Linked DNA regions of Homo sapiens: region 2 is linked to region 1. Evidence: promoter capture Hi-C in 16 types of primary human blood cells and fetal thymus (Javierre and others, 2016). All regions are on one chromosome and are shown on one strand. Each heading gives the region's core, a stretch centred on a gene start or on the middle of the fragment in contact. The rest is flanking DNA. Distances are from core to core; before and after follow the strand shown. Region 1 holds the start of RSC1A1 (regulator of solute carriers 1). Region 2 overlaps DNAJC16 (DnaJ heat shock protein family (Hsp40) member C16).

Region 1 (4,103 bases), core at 126-2,625:
TGAGGTTTCACCACGTTGGCCAGGCTGGTCTCGAACTCCTGACCTCAGGTGATCCACCTGCCTCGGCCTCCCAAAGTGCTGGGATTACAGGCATGAGCCACTGTGCCCAGCCCTTTTTGATTTTTAATTAAAGATCTTACAATGGTCGGGTGCGGTGGCTCTTGCCTGTAATCCAAGCACTTTGGGAGGCTGAGGCGGGCGGATCACCTGAGGTCAAGAGTTTGAGACCACCCTGACCAACGTGGAGAAACCTCATCTCTACTAAAAATGCAAAATTAGTCGGGTGTGTGGCGCATGCATGTAATCCCAGCTACTCTGAGGCAGGAGAATCGCTTGGACCCGGGAGGCGGAGGTTGCGGTGAGCTCAGATGGCGCCATTGTACTCCTGTCTGGGCAACAAGAGCAAAACACAGTCTTAAAAAAAAAAAAAAATTCTTACACTTACATGCGTAGAGGTCAATTTTTAACTGGATTGGTGGCAAAAGAAGAGCTGGAAATGATGTTTAATGATACTATGATGCTTACACTGAGCCGTCTTGTTTGGGTGGTCTAAGGTAGCAGTGAATCTAAATAGTCATTGCCAGTTGAAAAACTATTAATGAACCATCTCCCTCCACATTCCCCTTTCTTTAAAACATTTAAATATTCTTAACTTAGTTGCACACTATTGATGTGATAAAAACTTATAAGCCTTTTAAGTTTAGAGTTGTATTATTTGGTAGGATGATGATTGTGATTTAATCTGCTGATCATTAGTTTACTTTTGTTTTCTGAGTCAGATGCTCACCCAGTTTTACCATGATTTTTGGAAAGCTTGGCTAGAAATAAAATAGAACATTTGCTTCTCTGTCCCCAAGCATTATGTTATTTCTTATTTCTCTTTATAATTCCCTCTCTGTCCAGGTATACCTGGTTTAAGACTTCTCATTTGTAACCTCAGTGTTCACATTTGAAACAAGAAAAGTGCATTAACATGAGAATCATTCTGGTGCAAAGATTCTCAGGATTTGTAATATCCTTAAGAATCACCCAAGGAGCTTATTGAAAATGCACATTCCTGGATTTACTCTCAAGTATGGTACCCCAGGGTCTGCATACTTCACAAGCGTCCCTGGTGGTTTTAGGGCAAGTGGTGAAAAAAGTACACTTGGAGAAACTATTCTAGAGTTGTAGACTAGACTAGGGAATAAAGAAACATAAATGTCCTTCATTCCTGAGCACTAACCCCGCCATTATGTGAATGCATATTAATGGATACTTAATCACATTGAATTACAGTATGCAGATTTTATTAAGAACATGTCTACCTCTTATTCTGATGCTGTGAATGTCTACCACAATGAGAAAGTAATTTTAAAATCATTTCTATTTGTGTAAGAGAAACCCGAGTTTGAGGACCTTATTTTATTCTACGCTGTTTAGATTTGTATCCTCTGGTAATTTAGTGGCATTAGTCACCTGCTAATTAATCTTTTTCCTTTCCCCTGTGTTCCATATAGAGAAAAGTGGTAAAGAATCTACCTCACTGGGAATGTCATCATTACCAACTTCAGATGGGTTTAACCATCCCGCCCGTTCTTCAGGACAGAGTCCTGATGTTGGTAATCCTATGAGTCTTGCTCGCTCTGTCTCTGCTTCAGTCTGCCCTATCAAGCCCAGTGACTCAGATCGCATTGAACCTAAAGCTGTGAAGGCTTTGAAGGCTTCAGCTGAATTCCAGCTAAACTCTGAAAAGAAAGAACATCTTTCTTTACAAGATCTTTCTGATCATGCTTCCTCAGCAGACCATGCTCCAACAGACCAGAGTCCAGCTATGCCTATGCAGAATTCATCCGAAGAAATAACTGTTGCAGGTAATCTGGAGAAATCTGCTGAAAGAAGCACCCAGGGCCTCAAATTTCATCTCCATACAAGACAGGAAGCTAGTTTATCTGTCACATCTACTAGGATGCATGAACCACAGATGTTTCTAGGTGAAAAGGATTGGCATCCAGAAAATCAGAACCTGAGTCAAGTGAGTGACCCTCAGCAGCACGAAGAACCAGGGAATGAACAGTATGAGGTTGCACAACAAAAAGCTTCACATGACCAAGAATATCTTTGTAACATAGGGGACCTTGAGCTTCCTGAAGAAAGGCAACAGAATCAACACAAAATTGTTGATTTGGAAGCTACGATGAAAGGAAATGGGCTCCCACAGAATGTGGATCCTCCAAGTGCGAAGAAAAGTATTCCATCTTCAGAATGCAGTGGCTGCTCAAATTCAGAAACATTTATGGAAATCGATACAGCTCAACAGTCCCTAGTTACTTTGCTTAATTCAACAGGCAGGCAGAATGCCAATGTCAAGAACATTGGTGCATTGGATCTCACTTTAGATAATCCCTTGATGGAAGTAGAAACATCAAAATGTAACCCTTCATCTGAAATTTTGAATGATTCCATTTCCACTCAGGATTTACAGCCCCCAGAAACTAATGTTGAAATACCTGGAACAAATAAAGAATATGGCCATTACTCCTCTCCAAGTCTCTGTGGCAGTTGTCAGCCTTCTGTGGAGTCAGCAGAAGAATCTTGCCCGTCTATAACGGCAGCCTTGAAAGAACTTCATGAACTTTTGGTTGTTAGCAGTAAACCAGCTTCAGAAAATACATCTGAAGAAGTAATCTGTCAATCAGAAACCATAGCTGAGGGCCAAACCAGTATTAAAGACCTTTCTGAAAGATGGACCCAAAATGAGCATCTTACCCAGAATGAACAGTGTCCACAAGTCTCCTTTCATCAGGCCATATCTGTATCAGTGGAGACAGAAAAATTAACAGGTACTTCATCTGACACTGGAAGAGAAGCTGTAGAAAATGTAAACTTCAGGAGTCTAGGTGATGGCCTGTCAACCGATAAGGAAGGTGTCCCCAAATCTAGGGAATCCATAAATAAGAACCGTTCTGTCACTGTAACCTCAGCTAAAACATCCAATCAGTTACACTGCACCTTAGGTGTAGAAATTTCACCCAAACTTTTAGCAGGTGAGGAGGATGCACTCAATCAGACTTCTGAGCAAACTAAGTCTTTGTCATCCAATTTCATATTGGTTAAAGACTTAGGTCAGGGCATACAGAATTCAGTAACAGACAGGCCTGAAACCAGAGAAAATGTCTGTCCTGATGCTTCGAGGCCATTACTTGAATATGAACCACCTACCAGCCATCCATCATCAAGTCCTGCCATTCTTCCACCATTGATTTTTCCTGCCACAGATATTGACCGCATTCTCCGTGCTGGCTTTACTTTGCAGGAAGCTCTTGGAGCTTTGCATCGAGTTGGTGGGAATGCAGACCTTGCACTTCTTGTTTTGCTCGCAAAAAACATCGTAGTTCCTACATGACTGTGGGAAAGTGGGCTAGACCGTTCTCCATTCCCTTTAAACAAAAGAAAGCTCTCTCTATATACACGCACACATACACACTCACCACATATACAGTATATATAGAAACCTGCAAGCAGAATGTTGAGCCAGATTTTTTTTAAAGATTTTTTTCGGCCAAAGTAATTTATGATCTTTTGTCTGATGAATTTGTCTATCCTACTTGTTAAAATTTAGGCCTTTTTAAATGTATTGGCAGTATGTGCATACAGAAGCTTTTTATTCTCATTAAGATGTATCCTGGAATAAAATGGATGGTTTTGTGTGTAGCATACTGTTTTAGAATGAGAGTAAATGCTTTGAAAAGCAGAAGCCATGAGAAATCCCACTACCCATCCAGCTAAAAACAGATGAACTCTCCACACTGTGACTGTGTGTCTGTGCTGATGGCAAGGTATGGTTTGCTGGCTCAGTTGTCAATTTAGAAACTTTTGACCACATAATTTGGTGTTTGGAATTCTACCCAGTGCTCTGTGTATCATGATTCATTAATTATAACAGGAAATTGGAGAATAATTGAATATCTTATCGTAGAGTGGTATGTTTTTATTTGTGTGCTTAGGATTTGACATTTTAATAGGGCGAGCAGGAGGGTTTAAATCTTGGGCTACTTTGTGCATCACAGGCTGCTGCATGGATTGCCATGAATCCTTATTACATTGGATGGGATATTGTGGGG
Region 2 (4,320 bases), core at 511-3,010, 100 kb before region 1:
ATCTTTGAGAATGATTATTTTATGCCTTCTCTTTTGTTTTCATGGTTGGTTTTACCAGAGGCTTGTCGATTGTATTAGCTTTTTCAAAGAACCAGTTTTGTCTTTGTTAATTCTTCTTCTTATATTAATATATTCATTTCTTGTTTCATTAATTTCTATTTTTATCTGTATTATTTCCTTTCTACTTTTATATTTTTGCTGTTTTTGACTTGACAGATGTTTATTTCATTAACTTCTTTTCTATTATGTTAATTGTAAAATTCCCCTTCAAGTACTACTTTATATGTATCTCAGAGTTCTTATAAATAGTATTTTTCATCAGTCATTAAAGTTCAAAATATTTTCTAATATCTGATAGGCGTTCTTGTTTTGGTTTTTTTTTTTTCTTTTTTAGTCAGTCTTGCTCTGTCACCCAGGCTGGAGTGTAGTGATGTCATCATGGCTCACTGCAGCCTTGGCCTCCTATGCTCAAGTGATCCTCACCCTTCAACCTCCCAAGTAGCTGGGACTACAGGCACATGCCACCATGCCCAGCTAACAACTTTTTTTTTCCTTTTTTTTCTTTTATGAGACAGGGTTTCACTCCCGTTGCCCAGGCTGGTATGCTCTCCCAGCCTCAAGCAGTCCTCCTGCCTCAGCCTCCTGAGTAGCTGGGACTAAGGCCACGCCTGGCTAATTTTTGTACTTTTAGTAGAGACAGGGTTTCACTATGTTGCACAGGCTGGTCTTGAACTCCTGACCTCAAGTGATCCACCTGCCTTGACTTCCCAAAGTGCTGGGATTACAGGCATGAGCCACCATACCCAGCCCTTTTTTTTTTTTTTTTTTTTTTTTCTTGAGACAGGGTCTCAGTCTGTCACACAGGCTAGAGTCCAGTGGTGTGATCCTAGCTCACTGCAGTCTCTTAAGTCTTGGGCTCAAGCAGTCCTCCCACCTCCACCTCCCAGGTAGCTGGGATTGCAGGCATGCACCACCATCATGCCTGGCTAATGTTTTTTTATTTTTAGTAGAGACAAGATCTCATTATGTTGCCCAGGCTGGTCTCGATCTTCTAAGCTCAAGCAATCCTCCTGCTTCGGCCTCCCAAAGTTCGGGGATTATAGGAGTGAGCCACTGTGCCTGGCCTTTTGTTTGTTTGTTTTTAATTTTTTGTAGAGATGGGATCTCTCCATGTTGCACAGGCTGGTCTCTAACTCTTGGGTTCAAGGGATCCTCTTGCCTTGGCCTCCCAAAGCATTTGGGTTAGAGGAATGAGCCTCCATACCTGGCCGTGTTTCTTAATTTCCAAACATAAAGGGAAATGTTTACATTTCTGGTTTGCATTTTAAATGGAATTCTAGGTTAATTACCTTGTGGTCAGAATACCTGCTGTCAATGATTTCAATCCTTTGAAATGTGTGAAAGTTAGCAATAAAATGGTCACACGGTTTTGTAACCTGCCTTTTATACTTTGCAACATTGTTGCTTTGGGATTTATTTTTAATTGCCCAGTTCGCTACAAATCCTGAATGGAAATAATTTTGCCTAAAATTCAAAATGATTGACTTTTCGTTTTGGGTTTTTGTTTTGTTTTGTGTTTGGTTTTGTTTTGTTTTTGAGATGGAGTCTCGCTCTGTCGCCCAGGCTAAAGTGCAGTGGCGTGATCTCGGCTCACTGCAACCTCCGTCTCCCAGGTTCAACTGATTCTCTTGCCTCAGCCTTCCAAGTAGCTGGGACTACAGACACACGTCACCATGCCTGGCTAATTTCTGTATTTTTAGCAGAGACGGGGTTTCACTATGTTGGCCAGGCTGGTCTCAAACTCCTGACCTCGTGATCTACCCACCTCAGCCTCCCAAAGTTCTAGGATTTCAGATGTGAGCCACCACGTCCGGCCATGACTGACTTTTTTAATTTGTCAGCATAAAACAGTGAATAAAAATTCTCCAGTGGAAAGTGTACTTGATTTTCCCTTTGACCCGAAATAGCTGCATCATTGCTTTCAGCCCTGCATTGCTGAAATAGATCACCACATGTTTATTCGCTCAAACAGGTCTGTCTTGTTTGGTTATATTACTTTAGCCAAGGTCAGCTACGTTTTTATTAAGCTGGTAAGTAAAGAAAGCCCATCTATTTGCATTGAGAACACTGCATAAAATCTAGCTGATTCTTGGTTTTTCTCTAGGCCCGAGGTATGAAGAAGCAAATCATTGACGACTTCATCACCCGAAACAAATATCTATTGGCAGCCAGGCTCACCAGCCAGAAGTTGTTCCATGAACTCTGCCCTGTGAAACGGTCGCATCGACAGAGGAAGTAAGGACTTAAGGCTTTGCCTCTGCTTGTTATTACAATAGAAGGATCATGATTCATTTTACTATAGGGTGACTAGACATCTGCCCTGTAACATTGAGAACTTATTCTTCATTTAACAAATACTGGGCCGGGCATGGTGGCTCATGCCTGTAATCCCAGCACTTTGGGAGGCCGAGGAGGGCGGATCATCTGAGGTCCGGAGTTCAAGACCAGCCTGACCAACATGGAGAAACCCCATCTCTACTAAAAATACAAAATTAGCCGGGCATGGTGGCTTATGCCTGTAATCCCAGCTACTAGGGAGGCTGAGGCAGGAGAATCACTTGAACCTGGGAGGCAGAGGTTGCGGTGAGCCGAGATCATGCCATTGCACTCCAGCCTGGGCAACAAGAGTGAAACTCTGTCTCAAAAAAAAAAAAAAAAAAAACACTGATTAGTGACTGTGATGGTAATCATACTAATATGATGTATTAGTCCAGGGCACTTTAGCACCAAATTGTCAGATGTGCCAGCCTGTCCTAGTGGTCAGAGAAGATTTCCCTAAGATGTAACATTTCAGCTGAGACCTGAAGGATGAGCACAGTTTAGCCAGGCGTCTGGGATAGACTGGGTCACTTTACAGAAGCACAGAATATGGAAGAGTGACTGTCCCTACTAAAGCATTCCACACAGGGTGAGTCTTTGGAGGTCTTGGGAAGGAGCAAGGATAACAATTAAACAGTAGGGAAGTACAGAGTATTGAGGAAATGGATTGGTGGGAATCGGGAAGGCTAAGTTACATGTATTCAATAAAGTAGGAAGAGTTATTATACAAAGTATCTAAAAAGTCTAGAAATTCAGGGAATGTATTCATTACACCTTCTCAGGTGAATGAATCAGTAGCTTTAAATTTAGGGCTGTTTCATCTGTAAAAGGTATCTGGATATGGAAGGAAAACATATCAATCATGTAACTTGAAAATATAAAACATAATTTCCCTGTGTGTCTAGGCTTTTCAGATTCCTTTATAGTCTTAAGAGCGAAGAAAAAAATGACTTAAATATAAAAAAAGAATATCCTGGACTGTAAGGATTGTTGTTTACACAGCCTTCAAAAAATATCCCAAATCCACACACTTCTCACTTTTTTTAACCACTGCCACCCTGGAACAAGCCACCATCGTCTCCCAGCGAGACCCCCCTGGCAGCCTTCTAACTAGTCTCTCTGCTCCATTCCACTCTTGTACCCTCCAGGCAGATGTCCACACGTCAGCCAATAATGTTTGAAAATGCAAATCAGATCCAGTCACTCCCCATCCTGGGGTCTTTGCACTTGTAGTCTCTCTACCTGGGATGCTCTGACCCCATTTCCTGTCATAACAATGTCACCTTTTCAGTTGGCACTTCCCTGACCAACCTGTCTGATGGAGCCTGGCTTCTACCCACTCTGGCCTCTCTCTGTCCCCTTTTCATCTTTTTTTTTTTTTTTAATATATAGCACTTGTTGATACCTGTCATAATATATCTGTTTTCTGTCTTCCCCACTGGAATATAAGCTCCATGAGGGCAATAATATTGTCTATATTACCTGACATATACTAAGTGCTCAGTAAATATTTTTGGGAGAATGAATAGCTAAACTTTCCATTGGAACCTTGCAAAGGAAGCCGTTCAGAATGAGGCTCAGTGGCCTCTGGCCTGAGAGAGATTTGACCAGCCCTCCCTATACTGGAAGAACTAGGACAAATAGTTTCTAAAAGGCCCTGCCGGCCAGGAACAGTGGCTCACGCCTATAATCCCAGCACTTTGGGGGGCTGAGGCAGGCGGATCACTTGAGGTCAGGAGTTTGAGACCAGCCTGGCCAACATAGTGAAAACCCGTCTCTACTAAAAATACAAAAACTAGTTGGGTGAGGTGGTGCACGCCTATAATCCCAGCTACTTGGGAGGCTGAGGCAGGAGAATGGTTTGAACTCAGGAGGCGGAGTTACAGTGAGCCGAGATCACACCACTACACTCTCCAGCCTGGGCGACAGAGCAAGACTCCA

Evidence for each region. Contacts are between HindIII fragments. The CHiCAGO score rates a contact against its expected background, and 5 or more counts as called.
Region 2: a contact is called between a fragment that was not itself captured here and the fragment with the promoter of RSC1A1 in region 1, in 1 of 17 cell types (M2 macrophages). The highest score is 6.3, in M2 macrophages.

The regions. Positions count from the first base shown.
Region 1 is chr1:15,658,338-15,662,440 of GRCh38, forward strand. RSC1A1 (regulator of solute carriers 1) reads left to right here and starts at 1,376. Exons shown (of 1, transcript NM_006511.3): 1 at 1,376-3,696. The coding sequence starts at 1,532. The coding sequence ends at 3,385. It overlaps DDI2 (DDI proteasomal shuttling factor 2), which reads left to right. Exons shown (of 10, transcript NM_032341.5): 10 at 1,500-4,103. The HindIII fragment of the contact is 1,265 bases long and covers 812-2,076 here.
Region 2 is chr1:15,557,362-15,561,681 of GRCh38, forward strand. DNAJC16 (DnaJ heat shock protein family (Hsp40) member C16) reads left to right here. Exons shown (of 15, transcript NM_015291.4): 8 at 2,165-2,295. Among named protein-coding and RNA genes, the nearest start is that of AGMAT, 26 kb to the right of the region's middle. The HindIII fragment of the contact is 8,182 bases long and covers 1-4,320 here.